6 separate regions of the Homo sapiens genome follow, and regions 1, 2, 3, 4 and 6 are each linked to region 5. The links are contacts of gene promoters, found by promoter capture Hi-C in blood cells and fetal thymus (Javierre and others, 2016). All regions are on one chromosome and are shown on one strand. Each heading gives the region's core, a stretch centred on a gene start or on the middle of the fragment in contact. The rest is flanking DNA. Distances are from core to core; before and after follow the strand shown.

Region 1 (2,939 bases), core at 167-2,666, 340 kb after region 5:
CAAACACTTTTTTTGGCAAGCACTTTTAGTGTTTGTTGTGGTTGTGTGCCAGGCATGGTTCTCAGCAGTTTTCACTAATTCATTTCATCTTCACAACAACCCTATAAGGTAAATTTTATTATCGCCCTTTCTACAGATTGGCAAATGAGGCACAAGTGGTTTGGCTTGCCCCTAAACTACATAGACAGCAAAAGACTGAGGGAGAATTTGGGGAAGACAGTCTTGCTCCAGTTCATGCTCTTATTCACGGCACTGTGCTGACCTCTCAGTCACCACGCTATTTACTTTACATACATTGTCTTATTTAATCTTCACACAGTGTATGTTTTATTATTTATCTCTATTTTACAGGTGAGGAATGAAGCTCAGTGGTGTTTAGCAGTTTGGCCAGATTCCACTCTGGCAAGCTCAGTGAGACAGAACCAATTTCCCTTTCTGTTTCTTTTAGTAGATAAAGCCATTGACCCAGCGATGAGGCAACTCAGAAAATGCTCAGAATACCAATCATAGGATCTCCCTAAAAATCAAGTGATGTGGTCAAGAAACAAAGCCTAAATAGAGCTTCTCTGCCACTCTGCTATGTGCTGCTGCATTTCTCCATAGAAATGTAACTTTCACCACCACCACACAAAGCTGAACCAGTTACCAGGGAGCTGGGAAGCAAGACAGATAGCAGGGAGACAGGGGAACACTTTAGGGTTAGGCCATTATTTTCAGATCAGGTAGAAGAGTAGAGATGGTTAGACACACTCAGAGATTCTTTGACTCTGACTTCAGGCAGGAAGTAAAATCCAGTCTAATCAGTTAATAAAAGGCATTCATCAAAGAGATTCAACCTCACACTGTTACTTCAACAGGCATCTTGCCCTTGTGGAAAAACAGGCTTAATTTCCAAATCATTTTAAGCTTGAATATTGGTGCAATGGGGAGCTTAATTTGGGAGGTAATGAGACCACCAAAGGAAATTAGAATGATTAACTGGGGCACAGTGAAAGCATGGAGCTGTTGGTAAAGGAAAATTGTATTTGTAGAGCTATGTGGTGGGGGGCAAGAGGCACAGATGAAGAGAACAAAGAGGGAGGAACGACTCCTGAGACTGGTAGCAGGAGAACAGAAGGCTCTTAGGAACAGAGGAAATTTTTTAAAAATACAACTTTATGAAATGGGATTGCAGAGTATTATTCAGTTAGCATCAGGTAGGGTTTCATGTGGCAACAACCACAGCTGGCAACACATTCTTTCAGAAGCACAGACCCTCTGGTGGTTTTATTGCACTCTAAGGGGTGTTGTTGAAAATAACAAGTTAGATTTCTTCATGAGGTCATTGGCACTGCATATACCTGGGCATGCATTATGGTTCTATCCATCCTAACTCGGCAAGCAGTGGGTTTGGAATTCAGTCCTATAACTTCCTTTCTGTAAGATTTCCTTCTAAGGTATCCTGCAGGAACGATTACTGGCAAGAAATATTGACCCTTTAATGTGTCAGAACTGAATCAGGCCCCATTCTTTACACAGGGTTAATCACCCAGTTCTCATGCTCTGCCCCAGAGAACTGAGGCTGCCACAGTGTCCATGCCAGGCTGCTCACTGGACACAGAATGAAAGACAGTGCATTACAAAACTTTCAGGTAAACGTACATCCTTGGACTTCTATGAAGAAACAACAGAATAACAGGAATAACATTTTTCCAGTGGCATACAGATTGTACTCTGAGGACTCTGAAACCTGATATAAAGTCCATACTGGGGAAAAAAACATGGTAGTATTTGTAGGATGGGCCCTTGTTGCTATTTCACCTGGCCCATTTGTTTCCAGTCTGAAAGGGGTCTGGTAGGCTGTTTGGCAAATGGAATTGAATGATGATCACAGAATGAGAAATCCAAAAATCTGATTTGAATCCTCTGAAAAGTGCACTAGCCACTCAAGCTTCATGGTTTAAGATTTTGATTTTTAGAAACATATAGTGCGTCCAGAGGCACAAGCCAGAAAGCCAAGTGTCATGGACTCCTAGGACTCAAAGAAGTCCTTTGTGTTCATCCTTAAATTTGAATGTGGCTTTCAAGGTAACCGAGAAGATAGTTTCATTCATTTCACAAACTTTTAACTGAGAAACTTTTAATAACATTTATTAAACTTTTAATAACTTTTAAATTGAGAAATTCTTGTTTACATAGCATCTAAAATGCTAACTAGCTCTTCTTTTCTGACCTTGTTTCATTCTCCTTTTCCTTTCTCCTGTTTTTCATGTTTTCTTTTTCATTTTCTACTTTTCTTGACTACATTTAACATCTTTATATTTGTCAATGTTTAGAATAATCACCCTTAATATTTTGGTATTTCCCTATGTACACATATCCCAAAGGATCAGAATATTTATGACTTTATTCATTTTTGGCCCAACCCTGTATCCTGCAAATTTCAAAAACAGCTTTACACTGTTGATCCCTGTTCAAATCACAACTGTTTTCTATTATCCTCTTACTTCATAGATTGCGTATTGGAGGGCTGTCTTAAGTCTAATACCAGGCATTTACTCCAGTTTCAATCAATCTTTTTTTCTAATTGTTTTATGGTCACCCGTTCCAAATTGTGAGGTACCTGGTTGATTCATACTGGCATTGACACACTCAGGACAGAAACTTTCCATTCAGTGATTTAAATTATTGGTTTTTTTTAAAAAGGATACCAGAACTCAGTACTTTCTCCAAATGACACTCAACATGCCCCTTGATGCATAAACAGATCTCAAGATTATTACATTTACACAATGTAGTCAGCCTGTGAAGTATCATAATACAGGTAAAATAAAAATTAAAAAGCAGGCTAAGGGAACATAAAGGAAGAAAGAATTGCATCAAAGACAGGTTCACACATGAGTTGTGCCTTAAGGAAGACATGGAAAAAGGTAAGAATCCTATATCTTTGGATTTATTGT
Region 2 (2,857 bases), core at 239-2,738, 410 kb after region 5:
GTAATAACACAAGAGACTAATTAGCTGGGAGTAACAGTAAGCATTTCTGCTGAGTGTTATCATCAACCTCAACAGTGTAAGTTGTTAAAATATTATCTTAATTTGGAGTCTGTTTGTTTTCACGTTTTTCGGAAAACAAAATATTTTAAGTGGTATGTGTGTGTTATTGTTTTGTGCATGAGCATATGTTATATTTTCCCTTTCTTAGCCAAGTTTTTGCTTAAGTACAAAACTACTTCCTAGGGAGCATGACACGGGGGGATAAGCAATACTCCTCACCATGGCAGTGGTTCAGAGGCAGAGCACAGAGTTGAGAACCAGACAAGGCCATGAAAAGGCATGGAGGAATCTTTACCCATCAATGCTTCCCAGCCTGGGCCAAGCTGTCTTCCAAGATCTCATCTTGACCAGTCCTTCTCAGACTTGTTTCAGAGGCTGAGTGCTCAGAAATCACGATACTCCCTGCAAGACACAATGGGTAAAATGCTGGTATACGTATGTAATGATGATACAACTTCACTGACAGAAAATATGGCTCTAATAAGTGAATGTAACAAAATAACACCTACCTCTAAGTCCTTTTGGAAATGAAGCTGAGTTTCATTATTGGTAAAATGAAGGTAATAACCCCTATCTCACAGAGAGAGACCACTGATCCTTCAGTTCGAATCAAAGATATGCCAAAGATTTTTGCTTCTAGTGCTTGTGTAGCAATCACCGTAAGACAAATGGCACAGCAAGCAGGACTTCACTGTTACTGGCTGCCGTTTATTTAGCATCTATCATACACCAGATACTATGCTAAGGGCCTTACGAACCTCTCATTAAATGTGACAAGAACTCATTTAGGAAAACATTTTTCTCTATTCTAACAATGAGAAACGCTGAGATGGTGGTATCTTGCTAGCTCGCTAGAAATTTACCTTTTTTATCAAGAAATTAAGATGTAGCTTTTGACCAGACACATCCCCATAGCAGTATTTCTTAATCTTTTTTTGTGTGTGTGTCACAATCCCTCTGAAAATCCACCAAAGGCCATAAACCTTCCCAGAAAAATGCACATAAGCAAACACAGCACTTTGTATTCAACTTCAGTGGGCTCATGGGCCCCAAGAAAGGACACGGTGCTGCTGAGTGGAAGACGAGGAGGGCTTTAATAGTCTTCAGGCTGAACTTGAGCTGTCCTTTCAAGCACTGATCTGAAATGTTTTCCTTAGCCATTTTCCTGACTATTATATTTTTCAAATATTTATATTGATAAAAGATAAAACAAACCCTAAAATGTCAAAAATACTCTTTGGCAACAGGTAGCCTATAGAGTTTCCCCCCTTTTTTTTTAAACCATCAGTCATCAAAAAGACTTTCTATTCTGAATAGACAATACCAGTTCAGATTAGCAAACAACCCAGAGAATACTTGTTTCTCTTTCTTAGTATCTGAATGAAACAAGATACTTAACACAAAACAACATTGTTGCTCCCTCCTGGTTTCTTAACATAAGAAGAGGCTTGAGCTGTTGACAAAAAAATACAGAGGTGAGAAATATAGTTGGTTTCTATAACCCCCAAATATGAAGATAAAAAATGTGGGAGGTAGGAGGAAGGAAGAAAGGGAGGGAGGAAAGAGAAATAAGAAAGAAGCAACCAGATATTTACATTTAGACTAATTTGAAATGGACTTTTATCATACATCTTGTAGATCCACATGTGCTCTCTGGACCAACAAAGTGTGCTTGTTGGACCAGCAGCATCAATATCTCCTGGGAACTTACTAAAATGCAGATTCTCAGGTTCCACCCCAGGCCTTTTGTATCAGAAACTCTGGGGGCGAGACCTAGCAGTCTGGTTTCTTTTTTTCTTTTCCTAAATAAGTTTATTTCCTAAAGACTCAATGTTTTAGAGTAGTTTTAGGTTCATAGCAAAATTGAGAGGAAGGTACAGAGATTTCCTATATACCCATTGCCCCTACAAATGCATAGCCTCTCCCATTATCAACATCCCCCACCAGAGTGGTACATTTGTTACAATGGATGAACCTACATGAACAGATCATTATCACCCAAAGTCCATACATTACATTAAGGGCTCACTCTTGCTATTGTACATTCTATTGGTTTGGACAAATGTCTAATGACATGTATCCACCATTGTAGTATTATATAGAATAGTTTCACTGCTCTGAAATTCCTCTGTGCTCTGCCTACTTATCCCTCTCTCCCCTTTACCCTTAGCAACCACTGATCCTTTTACTGTCTCCATAGTTTGTCTTTTCTAGAATTTCCTATAGTCGTAACTATACAGACTGTAGCCGTTTCAGATTGGCTTCTTTCACTTAGTAATATGCACTTAAGTTTTCTCCAAGTCTTTTTATGGCTTAACATTAGGTTGGTGCAAAAGTAATTGTGGGTTTTGCCATTAACCATATAAATAATGTCAAACATCGCGATTACTTTTGCACCAACCTGATAGCTCATTTGAATGGAATGATATTCCACTGTCTGCATCTACTGCAGTTTATTTGTCCATTCACCTGCTGAAGGGCATCTTGGTTACTTCCAAAGTTTAGCAATTATGAAAAAAACTGCTATAAACATTCATATGCAGGTTTCTGTCTAGACATAAGTTTTTAACTCCTTTAGGTAAATACCAGGGAGCATGATTGCTAGATTGTATGGTAAGAGTACACTTAGTTTTGTAAAAATTTGGCAAATTGTCTTCCAAAGTGGCTGTACCATTTTGCATTGCCATCAGCAATAAATGAGAGTTTTTATTGCTCCACATCCTCACCAGCATTTGGTGTTCTGGATTTTGGCCATTCTCATAGATGTGTTATGTTCAGCAGTCTGTTTTAACAAACC
Region 3 (2,917 bases), core at 135-2,634, 380 kb after region 5:
GTTTCATGATATTGGCCAGGCTGGTCTCGAACTCCTGACCCCAAGTGATCTGCTCACCTCGGCCCCCTAAATTGCTGGGATTACAGGTGTGAGCCACTGCTCCCAGACTATTTGTTCAATCATTGATTTATGTCCATATGCATTCATGGATATTTATTTATACTTTGGGTTATAATTCAATACTACTTTATTTATGTTGCTCAGATTTTTCCAACTTTGGCCACTGGGAGCTCTTTTAGTTGACTTCTGTGTCCCTTTAACATATTGTCATCATTGTGGGTTTTTATATTTGAGCATTTTTTGACGTTCTGACATTACAAGATGCTCCAGGCACATATTGTGTATTTCTGGCTCTATTCCTAGAAGCAGCCATTTCTCCAAGGAGAACTAGTTCCTTTTATGGGAGAATGCTATTGGAAACCAATATCTGGGTGCAAGGTATGTTCATTGCTATTGGGGTGTCATTGCTTTTAGGTCTTCTCAGCTGCCAGAGCAAAGACATATATGTGTGTACATATTTCCTTGTGTATATACTTCCTTGTGTATATATACACATCTACACATATTCCTATATGTAACCATGGGTATCTATGTTAAGCCAAACATAAGTTCATACTGATATCTCCAACTTAATCTATTATCACAAGGATCATCTTTGCTTCCTTCCCTTTTAACCTCTCATTGCATCAACAAGAAACCTGGATCACATCATCTTCCATTCATTTGCTTAATTATTCAGTTTCAGTATACATGTATACTGGTTTGAGAATTGTTATCCTCTAACTCTGTAGGGGGAAAATGGTTATCAACTAGCATACTGTCCTTATGTATAGTTAATTTTACCCTTAGTTTTACAGACTCTACTCATTTCCAAAGTTACTTAGATCAGCATTCTAAGTAACCTCCTTAAATGAAGTGGCTACCTACACTTAAATAGAGTTAGATTGTTTTGTTATACTCTATATTCCATCCTGGGATCCTCTGACATTCTAAAGTTTTTAAAAACTTGTATACATAAAGGTTTACTTTTTGTGTTATAAATTTCTATGAGTTTTGATAAATGCTCATGCTCGCCTTGGCAGCACACATACTAAAATTGGAATGATAAATGCTTTATAACCTTCATTCACAATTACAGTATCATATAGAATAGTTTTGCCTTCCCAAAAATTTACCTATACTTTACCTGTTCGAACCTCCCGGCCCTACTCACCCACCCTCTGCTGAACACCTGGAAACCACTGACCTTTTACCATTGCTATGGCTTTTTCCTTTTCCATAATGTCATAAAATTGAAATAATATACAGCCTTTTCAGACTGGCTTTTTTCACTTAGCAATATTCATCAAAGAATTATCTATGTTTTTGCATAGCTTGCTAGCTTGTTCCTTTTTATCACTAAATGATATTCCATTGAATAGATGTACCACAGTTTGTTCATTTGCCTACTGAAAGACATCATTATTGCTTCCAGTTTGGGGGGAATTATAAGTAAAACTGGTATAAACATTCTCATGAAGGTTTTTGTATGGACATACATTTTCAAATCATTGAGTAAATACCGAATAGCGTGGTTACTGGATCATATGGTAGGACAATTTTTAGTTTGTAGGCAACAGCCAACCTGCCTTCTAAGGTTGCTGTATCAATTTGCATTCCAACCAGCAATGAGTGAGAGCTACTGTTACTCTGTTAGTAGTTTTTGTTTTGTTTTGTTTTAGCTATTCTGATTGGTATGCAGTGACTTCTCATTGTTGTTTAATTTGAAATTCCTTAGTAACAAATAATGTAGAGCATCTTTATATATACATATTTGCCACCTACATATCTTCTCTGGTGAGGTGTCTGATGAGGCCTTTTGTCTATTTTTAAATTGGATTGTTATTTTCTTATTATGTATTTTGGACGCAGATCTTTTATCTGATATGTGCTTTGCATATCGGATGAGTCTGAGACTTGTCTAATTTTCTTAATGGGTATTTTGCAGAGCAGAAATTTTTGTTTTTAAGAAAGTTCATCTTTTTTTTTTTTTGCATTACTATTGGTGTTGTATCTAAAAATTCACCACCAAACCCAAGGCTGTATAAATTGTCTCCTATTTTTTTCAAGGAGTTTTATACCTATGCATTTTGCATTTATGTTTATGATGAATTTTGAGTTGATGTTTGTGAAAAGTGTAAGGTGTGTGTTTGAGTTCCTTGCTTGCATATGGACACTCAATTGTTCCAGCACCATTTGTTGGAAAGACTATTCTTTTTCCATTGTATTGCCTTTGCTTCTTTGTCAAAAATCAGTTGACTATATTTGTGTGGGTCTATTTCTGGGCCCTGTAGTCTGTTTGACTGATCCTTGGGTCTATTCTTTTGCTAATACCATGCCAAAAAAGCAAAATAACTGTAACAAAATATGTCCACAACCTTTATGTTTTGTGTTGTAAAGTTCTATGAGTTTTGACAATTTGTATTCGCTATTGCAATATCATACAGAATAATTTTGCCACCCTAATAAAGTACTTGTACTTTGCTTACTTAAACCTCAACACCCCCCACCCTACACCTACCTGAATATTCTGGATAAGACCTAAATCAGTAGAGACATATAACATGTTCATGGATTAGATAACACAATTATTGTTATTATGTCAAATTTTTCTAAATTGATGTAAAGATTCAGTGCATACCTAATCAAAATACCAGTGTACTTTTGTGTTGAAAGTGATCACCTTAGTCTAAAATTTATATGGAATAAATAAATAAATAAATAAATAAATAAATAAATAAAAATAAAATTTATATGGAAATGTCAAGAACCTAAGATATCCAAAACAATCTTGAAAAAGAAGAACAAAGTTGAAGTATTCACACTTCATCATTGTAAAACTTAGTACAAAGGTACAGTAATCAAGACAGTGTTGGAA
Region 4 (3,090 bases), core at 85-2,584, 450 kb after region 5:
GTGCCGTCCCAGCACTTTGGGAGGCTGAGGCAGGAGGATCACGTGAGGTCAGGAGTTCAAGGCCAGCCTGGCCAACATGGTGAAACCCCATCTCTAGTAAAAATACAAAAATTAGCCAGGTGTGGTGGTGCATGCTTATAATCCTAGCTATTCAGGAGGCTGAGTCGGGAGGATTGCTTGAACCCGGGAGGCGGAGGTTGTAGTGAGCCTGATCATGCCACTATACTCCCACCTGGGCAACAGACTCTGTCTCAAAAAAAAAAAAAAACCTAAAAACCAACACCGTGGAACTTAAATTTTCCATATCCAAACCTTTTATACCAAGACCATATAATATGGCTACATAAGCAAAATGTTACTGTGGCCAGCAACCATGTACATTCACTGCAATATGAACAAACAAATCTGTATTTATCAGACTATAACCTCCAATTTAGATTCACCCAAGTGGCTACCAAGTATTACACATTAGTTTGCTTTCTCAGGTAGCATGGTAACATGTGCCAAAAGATAATTACCCAGTTGGCGCAGAAGTTAATTTGGGAGACACAAACAACTTCTGTCTAATGGAACAGATAACCCTATAGGGTTTATGGCCATGCTGGGCATTACCCAGTTTTGTAGCTAGCCCAGCAATTTTATCCTAACTTTATTTGTAAATTGCGCATGTATATCTAGCTTTTCAGATATTCTTAGGAACATTTTAACATCTTACTGGTTCCCTTACTAATGACTTAAGTAAAACATCTGAAGCACGTTTATTTCACATTGCTGGAATCTAGACTTATACTTTTCTAAAAATTACTTCACCGAGAAACTTCTTCCCCAACTGAAAGTTCTCAAAAACTTGTGATGTCGGCCATCGCGGGAGCTGAGCGCCTAGGAGCTCCCTCTGGCCTGGCAAAGGTCGTCAGACCGGCCCGATTACCCACCATTCCCCTACCCAGTGCTGAGTGGCAAAAGCATTATCAGGCGCGAGATAGTAAAGAAATGGCTCAGATTGCAGTACCACCGGCCCATTTACAGTTGTGCCTCCCTCTTTCCCGCGTGTCCAAAACCACCCATCCTAAACCAATTCCGGGCCCAGCTCCAACTCCACTAGACCTCATGGCAGCTGCCAGGGAGTCTCGAAAAACAGTTCAGGATCCTCGCGTCTTGGTTGTGTTTCTGACCCAGACTTCACTACTCCCCTCCCTTTATCTTGACTGAGACGTCTCCACTCGACAGATGCAAAAATCGTTACAGCGGAAATCATTAAATTGCCACACAACACTCCCACCAAGACATCGCTCACTCACCGGCGCCATCTTGCGAGTCGGCCGCGAGAGCAGAGAGGAAGCTACGGCCGCGCGGTCTGCATTTATATCAAAGCGTGCTGCGTCACGCGCTGAGAGCGTCAGATTGTCGCCTCCCGGAAAAGAAAGCGGGAGGAGCGCTGAGGCCGGTAACCCAGGAAACCAGTGCGCTGCCGGACGAGAGTAGGCCATCGGCTTTCCGCGGGCACACGCGGGTGGCTGTGGTTGAACTGACTCTCGGGTTTCCGCTCCTGGCTGTTCAAGCCGATTAATTGCAGTGGCCTCTACAGTTACCTAGTGGCTGCTCCCGGATACGGACGCACGCGAGGGATGCAGGAGTCATCTTTCACTAATCACCGGAATCCCCTTTCCAATCAGGGCAAGGCAGTGTCTCAGGTTGCTTTGGGATCTCCTTTTATTGCAGTTATAATCCTCCAGCGAAAAAGTTATTTGTTTGTGTTTTGTCTGTGAGCCTCGTTTTCTAAATGACTGTTGAGGGAAATTGGTGCTTCGGGGACCAGGTCCTCGGGAAAAAAAAATCATGTATATATATGCTTACACGCCCACGCCTGTAATCCCAGCACTTTGGGAGGCCGAGGCCGGAGAATCTCTTGAGCCCAGGAGTTCGAGACCACCCTTGGCAGCGTAGGCATAGGGAGAACCCGTCTCTACAAACAATTTTAAAAAAAATGGCCCGCGTGGTGGTGCGCGTCTGTACTCCCAGCCACTCGGGAGGCTGAGGCAGGAGCATCGCTTTACCTTGAGAGGCGGAAGTTGCAGTGAGTCGAGATCGAGCCACTGCACTCCAGCCTGGGTAACAGTGAGACTGTCTCAAAGGGAAAAACACGTAGTGCTTGCTTCTTGTTCATTCGTTTGGTATAATTTATCATGGGTTTTACAGTTAATCCCAGGTCTCTTGATTTCCATCCAAAATGCTCCCAGTTAAAATTCAATGAATGTTTGCTGTGACCTATCAGTATGTACAAGACACACGAGGGTGGAAGTGTCTTGCTGACAAAAGGAAAAAGTAGCTTTTGAGCTTTGAAGGATTGTAAATTGACATCAGATCCGAAAAGTGGCATGCTGAACCGCTTGGGTTTAGCAGTAATATGTTTTCGTGGAGATGAAATTATCATACCTAGGGGTAGGGGTAAGGGATGGGGTGGACTTTGTTGTTAATTTGAAGAATGACCCCAGAAAGTAAGAACTGTTCGTGGCCTTTATGCCAGCAAGTAGTTATCGTGGAAACTATGCTTTAATAGAGCATATGACTTGTAGAGTCTGAAGAGAGGCCCTGAATTCCTAGAAGAAATCCATTTCAACAAGATTTTTTAGTTGTCTGCCTTAAGAGCTACAATAATCACATTTCTCTTTCCAAACATTAAAGGGAGCAATTGGCATTTCCTCCTCAAGGGCTGCCTAAGCTGAGGGGCAGAAATGATTCTATTTTGCTTGTCTTTAGCAGTCTTCCATGTCTTGACAATAAACTCCTTAAGCACTATTAAGCCATTTGTACAAGGAGGATATGGAAACATACCTGTTTCACAAGAACTAGTAATCACCAAATAACTAGTTAGAAACTGTAATGGGGGAAAAATGTTTGTCAATTAGAAAAAAAAACAAGAATATTAGCGAGAAATGTGCAGATGGGAAGACTAAAAGTTGTAAATAATTCAGTTCTTCCCAAACTGTGCGTGTGCACACGTATATAGTAACACAATGCTAGTCAATACCCTATAGTTATTTTTTAAAAATTTGACAGCTAATTAAAAAAATTTTAACATTTATTTTAGAT
Region 5 (3,037 bases), core at 516-3,015:
ACTTGGGCAGTTGGACTGTGTTCTTAGTCACTGTGCTTCCTGGGTGATTACTGTGACCCTTGTACTTGACACTCTGCTATCAATTACAAGAGCCATTTCTGTGTGTGCACTTGATTTCCTTGGGGTCTCCAGGGAAATGTAATTGTCTCCTCAAGTCCAGGCTTTCCTAGAAGACATGGTGATTGCACTGATAACCAGCATTAGGGCTGGCTTTGGGAAAGCTCAGTACCTATGATTTATGGTTAGTATCTTAGATTTTAGAACGCTGAGCAGGAAGTTTTTGTGCTTTCTGAAATCCTCACACCTTTAAGTCTCATGATTGGTGAGGAGGCAGTGGTCCAAGGGAATGGATAGAAGGAGATAATAAGATAAGCCAAATGTTTCAAAGGGAGTGAAAACTGTTGAATGTAAATGCAGCTCAAGGAAGACTTCCCTATCTGAATAAAAAGGTGCAAATAATGCGGCCTATTTGTATGCATGGTGGCTTAATGATGTTGATGGTGATGATGATAGCTTTACACTATCAGAGCGCTCATTCTGGGCTAGGCAGTTTTCTCAGTGGGGTACAGATATTAATTTATTTACAGTGAGCCAGAGAAGTCTGCTGTAGCTTTTAATGCGTCTAAAATGGGACACATGAACCCCTTAGGAATTTTCAGACTGATCAGGACAGTTTCCTAGAAACAGTTCGTGAAAGGGATGAGATGGGCCCATGGTATCTACCCCTTCCTAGCTGCGTGAACTTGGGCAACTCAACCTTCTTGTGCTGTTTCTCTATGGCTAGTGCGTGTAATTTGTTGTTGTTGTTGTTGTTTGCTTTTGAGACGTTGTCTCACTCAGTTGCCCAGGCTGGAGTGCAGTGGCACGATCTTGGCGCACTGCAACCTCCTTCAAGTTATTCTCCTGCCTCAGCCTCCCAAGCAGCTGGGGTTACAGGCATGCGCCACCATGCCCGGCTCATTTTTGTATTTTCTGTAGAGATGGAGTTTCACCATGTTGGTCAGGCTGGTCTCGAACTCCTGACCTTAGGTGATCCGCCCACCTTGGCCTCCCAAAGTTCTGGGATTACAGGTGTGAGCCACCACTCCCGGCCTAGTATGTGTCATTGACAATTGTTCCTACCTCAAAGGCTGTTATGAGGATTAAATGAGCTAATGCATGTAAAATGCATCTGCATAATATATAACACAGCTCGATAAATGTGAGTTGCTATTGTTGATTATTATGGCCACGTTTGCCGCTGATGATGTTCAACCACTGAAAAGCATCGTTTTCTTTCTTCTAGTAACTGTGTGTACTGAATGCCTCGCGTTTGTCCCTACTGCACTTTTCAGTCTGTCACAATCCTGGGTCGTCGGGGGACTGTACCGAGCGCCCTTGGAGTGCTCGCAGCAGGGAAGAAGGAGCGAGCAGGGAGGAGCTGAGGAGGGTCGGAGCGGAATGGACACCCAGAGACTGAGATGAGAGAGGGGCTATAAGAAGAGAAACCAGTCGCAGGAAAACAGAACTCTCGACAAACGCACGCCCTCTTTGCGCTCTCCGTTTCTCTGGACCTGGATGGAATTGTTTTACTTTGCATCGCCGGACTGCGCTGCGGACGGGGTGGGGCGGCCCAATGGCCCCCCTGGGGTTACTCTGCTCCCCTTCACGCTTCCCTCCCGGCCCCGCCCCGCGATTGGCCGGCGCGCCCCGGGGCTGCCGCCGATTGGTGCTCGCCGGCCGGAGCCGCGGGGCTTAAAGAGGGGGCGGGGGCGCGCTGCCCAGCAGCGCTGCTGTCCCCGCCGTGCGCCCTTCGCCGCTGAGCTCGCAGCCTCCGGCGCCCACCTCCACCTCCAGTGTCCCGCCTCGGGCCGTCGCCCTCCAGCGGCTCGCGAGCGTGGGAGACGTACCTGGGCAGGCACTGTCCAGCCCAGGCCCAGGCACAGCCGTGAGGGGCGAGGCACGGGGACATCCTGGCGGCCACCATGGTGGCCACGTGCCTGCAGGTGGTGGGCTTCGTCACGAGCTTCGTGGGCTGGATCGGGGTCATCGTGACCACCTCCACCAATGACTGGGTGGTGACCTGCGGCTACACCATCCCCACCTGCCGCAAGCTGGATGAGCTGGGCTCCAAGGGGCTGTGGGCCGACTGCGTCATGGCCACGGGGCTGTACCACTGCAAGCCCCTGGTGGACATCCTCATCCTGCCGGGTAAGGACCCGAGCTTGGCGGCGGCTCCCAAATCCTTATCCTCTGGGTAGAGAGCGGGATATTAGACGGCGTCACAGAGACATTTTGGGGGCTTGAAGACCTTTGGGTACGTTTTTGACATCCCTAGTCCCACCTTGTTGTAAAAGAATTAGGCAGCCCCGAACTTAACTTCTCTAGGCCGCAGTATTCTTATCTGGAATTTGAGATAATAGTGGCAATGTGGCCGGTGGTAACACTGGCCGGGTCCCTTTGAGAATGAACAAACCGGAACACCTAATAGGAACTGAGTCCGTGTTAATTACTGCGGTCCCAGCCCGCATCCTTCCACCGTCCGCTTCCCGAAGTGCTTCCCGCTCCCGCCCGGCCTCCCCCGGGGCGCCGAGCCTTCGCGTTAGGTTCCGCCCGCAGAGGTGAGAAGGAGCGTGTAACACAAGCTGACAGGAGAATCGAACCGGCTCAGGCTGAGTTTCTCGGTCCTCATGGGATGGGCGAAGCGCCCCCGGCCAGGTTAGAGCCCTCCTAGCTCCGTCCGCGCAGCCGCTGAGCAATTCACGTCCAGGGCTCTCTGGGCTGCCTGGTTTGGGAAATGTCACGTTGATTCCCGCACGTGCCCAGGGCCATCTCCGCTGCCCCCGCTACCCCCGCCCCTGCTGTGGGCGCGTCAGACTGCGGGGCTGCGGTGACGCCGGCTCCCGCTCCGCGCCGCTGGGTTGGATAGGGACGAGCGGGCGCTCCTCGGAGGGCGGACTCCACTGGGGAGATACGGAGCGCGCCGCCGAGGGTCGCTCGCCGCCACCCCTCCAGCGTGTCTCAGATTGGGAAGGGGAGGTAAAAATTGACAGCCTAG
Region 6 (2,820 bases), core at 167-2,666, 430 kb after region 5:
TGGAATCAGACCAATTGCAAGTGGTTCCAATTCCAGCTTTGCTATTTAGTCATTCTGAGTCTCAATTACTTCATTTATAAAATGTATCAGTAGAAAATAAGATAATATATTTAAAGCACCTGGTGCTACATCTTGTGCATAGTACTGAACCAACCCTTTATAGTCTCTCTGTCAGCACCACACAATCTTGATTACTATAGCCATTTTTCACACCATTTAGAAGAGAAAAGCTTTAATTCTAGAAGTACTTAAGTAGACATTCTGCTATACTAATTTTATACACAAATAAGCTGTGTCTTCCTTGTTTAAGGTATTTGAGTAAGAACAGTTATAATCAAAGGTCAATTTATCCTGAATTTATTTTAAAGATACCTCCCTCTTGAGGGCATTACTATATATGACTCAGTATACTGTGAACTTGAGCACCGTGATATATATATTACTGGGTGGAAATGGAGGTAAACTAGTACAGACATCTTGGAGGACAATTTGGCAACATCTATTAACATTTAAAAACCCATGAGCATAAAGACTGTACAAAAACTGTACAAAAACTGTAAACTGCCTAAATTTCCAGCACTAAGTGACCAGGCAAATAACACACAGTAAAACACACAATAAAATAACATGTTACTACTAAAAATGGAAAAATCTATATATACTTACATGGATTATATCCAAGACATATCTGCATAGACATACTTGTACACACATAAAATAAAAATACCTTCAGATGAATGCTGGTAATAGTCATTGTCTTTGAGAGAAGAAACGGGTCAGTAGGCTTCAGGGAAAGGAAGGAATACTTTTCACTGTGTACTCTTTTACAATAGAAACTGATTTTTAAACCACCTATATGCATTATATATGCATATATAATATTTAAATTATATATAAAATTTTTGAAATAGGACTTACACATAGAAAGTGAACAAATCATAAGTGTTAAGAACATCTTTTTAATAAAGTTAACATACCCACCTACAAAACACTCATATCAAGGAGAAAAGCATTACCAGTATATGTTTACAGGAAAATTCTGGTATTAATTTACCTTTACTACTTCAGTATGTATATCAAAACAAACTAAAAAATAACAGTAATATCATAATCACACTGAGTAAAATGAACAATAGTTAGGTTTTAGAATATGTAATGCTTATATTTTTTAATACCCAGTTCATGTTCAATTATCTTTGCTTATCTCAAAAATATCTATTTGCATTTGGTTTGTTTGGATCATTTTCCAAAAAGTCCCCATATTACATATGGTGATTTTTCTCTTAAATCTCTTTTGTTCTATAACTGGCCCACCCTCTTCTGTTAATGCTATTTCTTTGTCATTGGAGAAACTGGTCATTTATCTTGTAGAATCTCTTACATTCTGGAATGGCTGATTAAATCCTCCTGGTATCATTTAATATGTTCTTTACCCACTGCATCTTTTGTAAACCATCAGTTAGATCTAGAAACTCATATGCTTTCTTGAGTTGGTAAATAAAAGTACTCTATGATCCACTACATTTGAGCAAAGCTACATATTTGGGGGAACCGATGCATGGAGAGTCACAAAGACCTGAAAAATTCCCAAAGCAAATAAATGTTTAGTTTGCTTAACTGTCCATTTCCCATGTGTTATTTTGTTGTTACTGTACTACTTACTATGTTCACATGGAACTACAGTCCTGTTTTATGCACTTTGATAAACACTGGAGCAAAAGATCTGTATGGTCTTCTCAAAATCCTATGACTTTTCATGGTATGAGACATATTGGCTGGGCACAATGGCTCACTCCTGTAATCCCAGCACTTTGGGAGGCTGAGGCAGGAGGATCCTTGAGCCCACAAGTTCAAGACCAACCTGGGGGATATAGCGAGACCTCATCTCTACAAAAAAAAAAAAAAAAGAGAGAGAGAGAGAATAAAAATTAGCTGGGTTTCATGGCACATACTTGTAGTCCCAGCTACTTGGGAGGCTGGGGTGGGAAGATCCTTGAGTCCAGGAAGTGAAGGCTGCAGTGAACTGTGATCTGCACTCTAGCCTGAGTGAGACAGCGAGACCCTGTTTCAAAAAAAAAAAAAGAGAGACAGAAAGAGACATACTGCAGATGCTCATAAAAGTTCGCTGATTGATTAATCCAGCAGTCACGTGTTGTGTTTTCTATTTATAGTGTACTGTACTCGAAACCACTATTCCTGTCCTTAAGAAATAAGATTGAGTTGATAAATCAGCATGTGTTCAGGCAATAAACTCACATGCTTATTTAAAGCATATGGCAGTTTAAAAAAAAAATCCACTGTATGTGTTGTGGATTTATGGAGTGGCCTGTTGGGTTTCATGAGGAAAGCTCCAAAAGAGAGGTCAGCCTTGGAGTACATCAACAAGCATTCACAGCAAGTCAGACCTGGAAACACACACACACACACACACACACACACACACACACACACACACACACAGAGCGAGAGAGAGAGAGAGAGACAGAGAGAGAGAGAGAGAGAAACAGAAATCTGCTGGTTTAATCTCTTAATTTATAGAAAACAGGAAGCCTAAGGACAGGAAAGGATTCTTATAGCTGATGAGACCCAGACATTCCTGCTGGTAAGCTTAGTGCACTCCCTTAGTAGGTCCAATTCAAGATTATTTTTTTGTAGGTAAACTGTTTTGTTTTGTTTTCTCTTCCCTCTGGAAGCTTTTGGGATTTTCTTTTTATCCTTTGGAGTACTGAAACTTCTTCAGGAAGTTATGAGCTTTTCCCTTCATCCTACCTGGCCTACCTCGCAATATGAGGATCCAGATTTTCTTGGGCGGAGGGAAAC

What was found. Contacts are between HindIII fragments. The CHiCAGO score rates a contact against its expected background, and 5 or more counts as called.
Region 1: a contact is called between a fragment that was not itself captured here and the fragment with the promoter of CLDN11 in region 5, in 4 of 17 cell types (endothelial precursors, M1 macrophages, M2 macrophages and 1 more). The highest score is 6.9, in endothelial precursors.
Region 2: a contact is called between a fragment that was not itself captured here and the fragment with the promoter of CLDN11 in region 5, in 4 of 17 cell types (M1 macrophages, M2 macrophages, endothelial precursors and 1 more). The highest score is 7.2, in M1 macrophages.
Region 3: a contact is called between a fragment that was not itself captured here and the fragment with the promoter of CLDN11 in region 5, in 6 of 17 cell types (M1 macrophages, M2 macrophages, endothelial precursors and 3 more). The highest score is 10.0, in M1 macrophages.
Region 4: the fragment with the promoter of RPL22L1 here is called in contact with the fragment with the promoter of CLDN11 in region 5 in 2 of 17 cell types (erythroblasts and M0 macrophages); the score reaches 5.9 in erythroblasts.
Region 6: a fragment that was not itself captured here is called in contact with the fragment with the promoter of CLDN11 in region 5 in 3 of 17 cell types (erythroblasts, M2 macrophages and endothelial precursors); the score reaches 6.6 in erythroblasts.

What each region holds. Positions count from the first base shown.
Region 1 is chr3:170,759,804-170,762,742 of GRCh38, forward strand. No RefSeq gene overlaps it. Among named protein-coding and RNA genes, the nearest start is that of RPL22L1, 110 kb to the right of the region's middle. The HindIII fragment of the contact is 1,024 bases long and covers 905-1,928 here.
Region 2 is chr3:170,831,763-170,834,619 of GRCh38, forward strand. All of the region lies in intron 2 of LOC105374211 (a long non-coding RNA gene), which reads left to right. Among named protein-coding and RNA genes, the nearest start is that of RPL22L1, 37 kb to the right of the region's middle. The HindIII fragment of the contact is 3,319 bases long and covers 1-2,857 here.
Region 3 is chr3:170,794,065-170,796,981 of GRCh38, forward strand. The region is part of intron 2 of LOC105374211 (a long non-coding RNA gene); the gene reads left to right. Among named protein-coding and RNA genes, the nearest start is that of RPL22L1, 75 kb to the right of the region's middle. The HindIII fragment of the contact is 5,465 bases long and covers 1-2,917 here.
Region 4 is chr3:170,868,861-170,871,950 of GRCh38, forward strand. It overlaps RPL22L1 (ribosomal protein L22 like 1), which reads right to left and starts at 1,335. Exons shown (of 4, transcript NM_001099645.2): 1 at 1,299-1,335. The coding sequence starts at 1,307. RefSeq lists enhancers at 828-877, 1,047-1,773, 1,774-2,499. The HindIII fragment of the contact is 15,380 bases long and covers 1-3,090 here.
Region 5 is chr3:170,417,103-170,420,139 of GRCh38, forward strand. It overlaps CLDN11 (claudin 11), which reads left to right and starts at 1,766. Exons shown (of 3, transcript NM_005602.6): 1 at 1,766-2,190. The coding sequence starts at 1,965. RefSeq lists an enhancer at 1,514-2,466. The HindIII fragment of the contact is 15,613 bases long and covers 1-3,037 here.
Region 6 is chr3:170,850,290-170,853,109 of GRCh38, forward strand. No RefSeq gene overlaps it. Among named protein-coding and RNA genes, the nearest start is that of RPL22L1, 18 kb to the right of the region's middle. The HindIII fragment of the contact is 2,377 bases long and covers 229-2,605 here.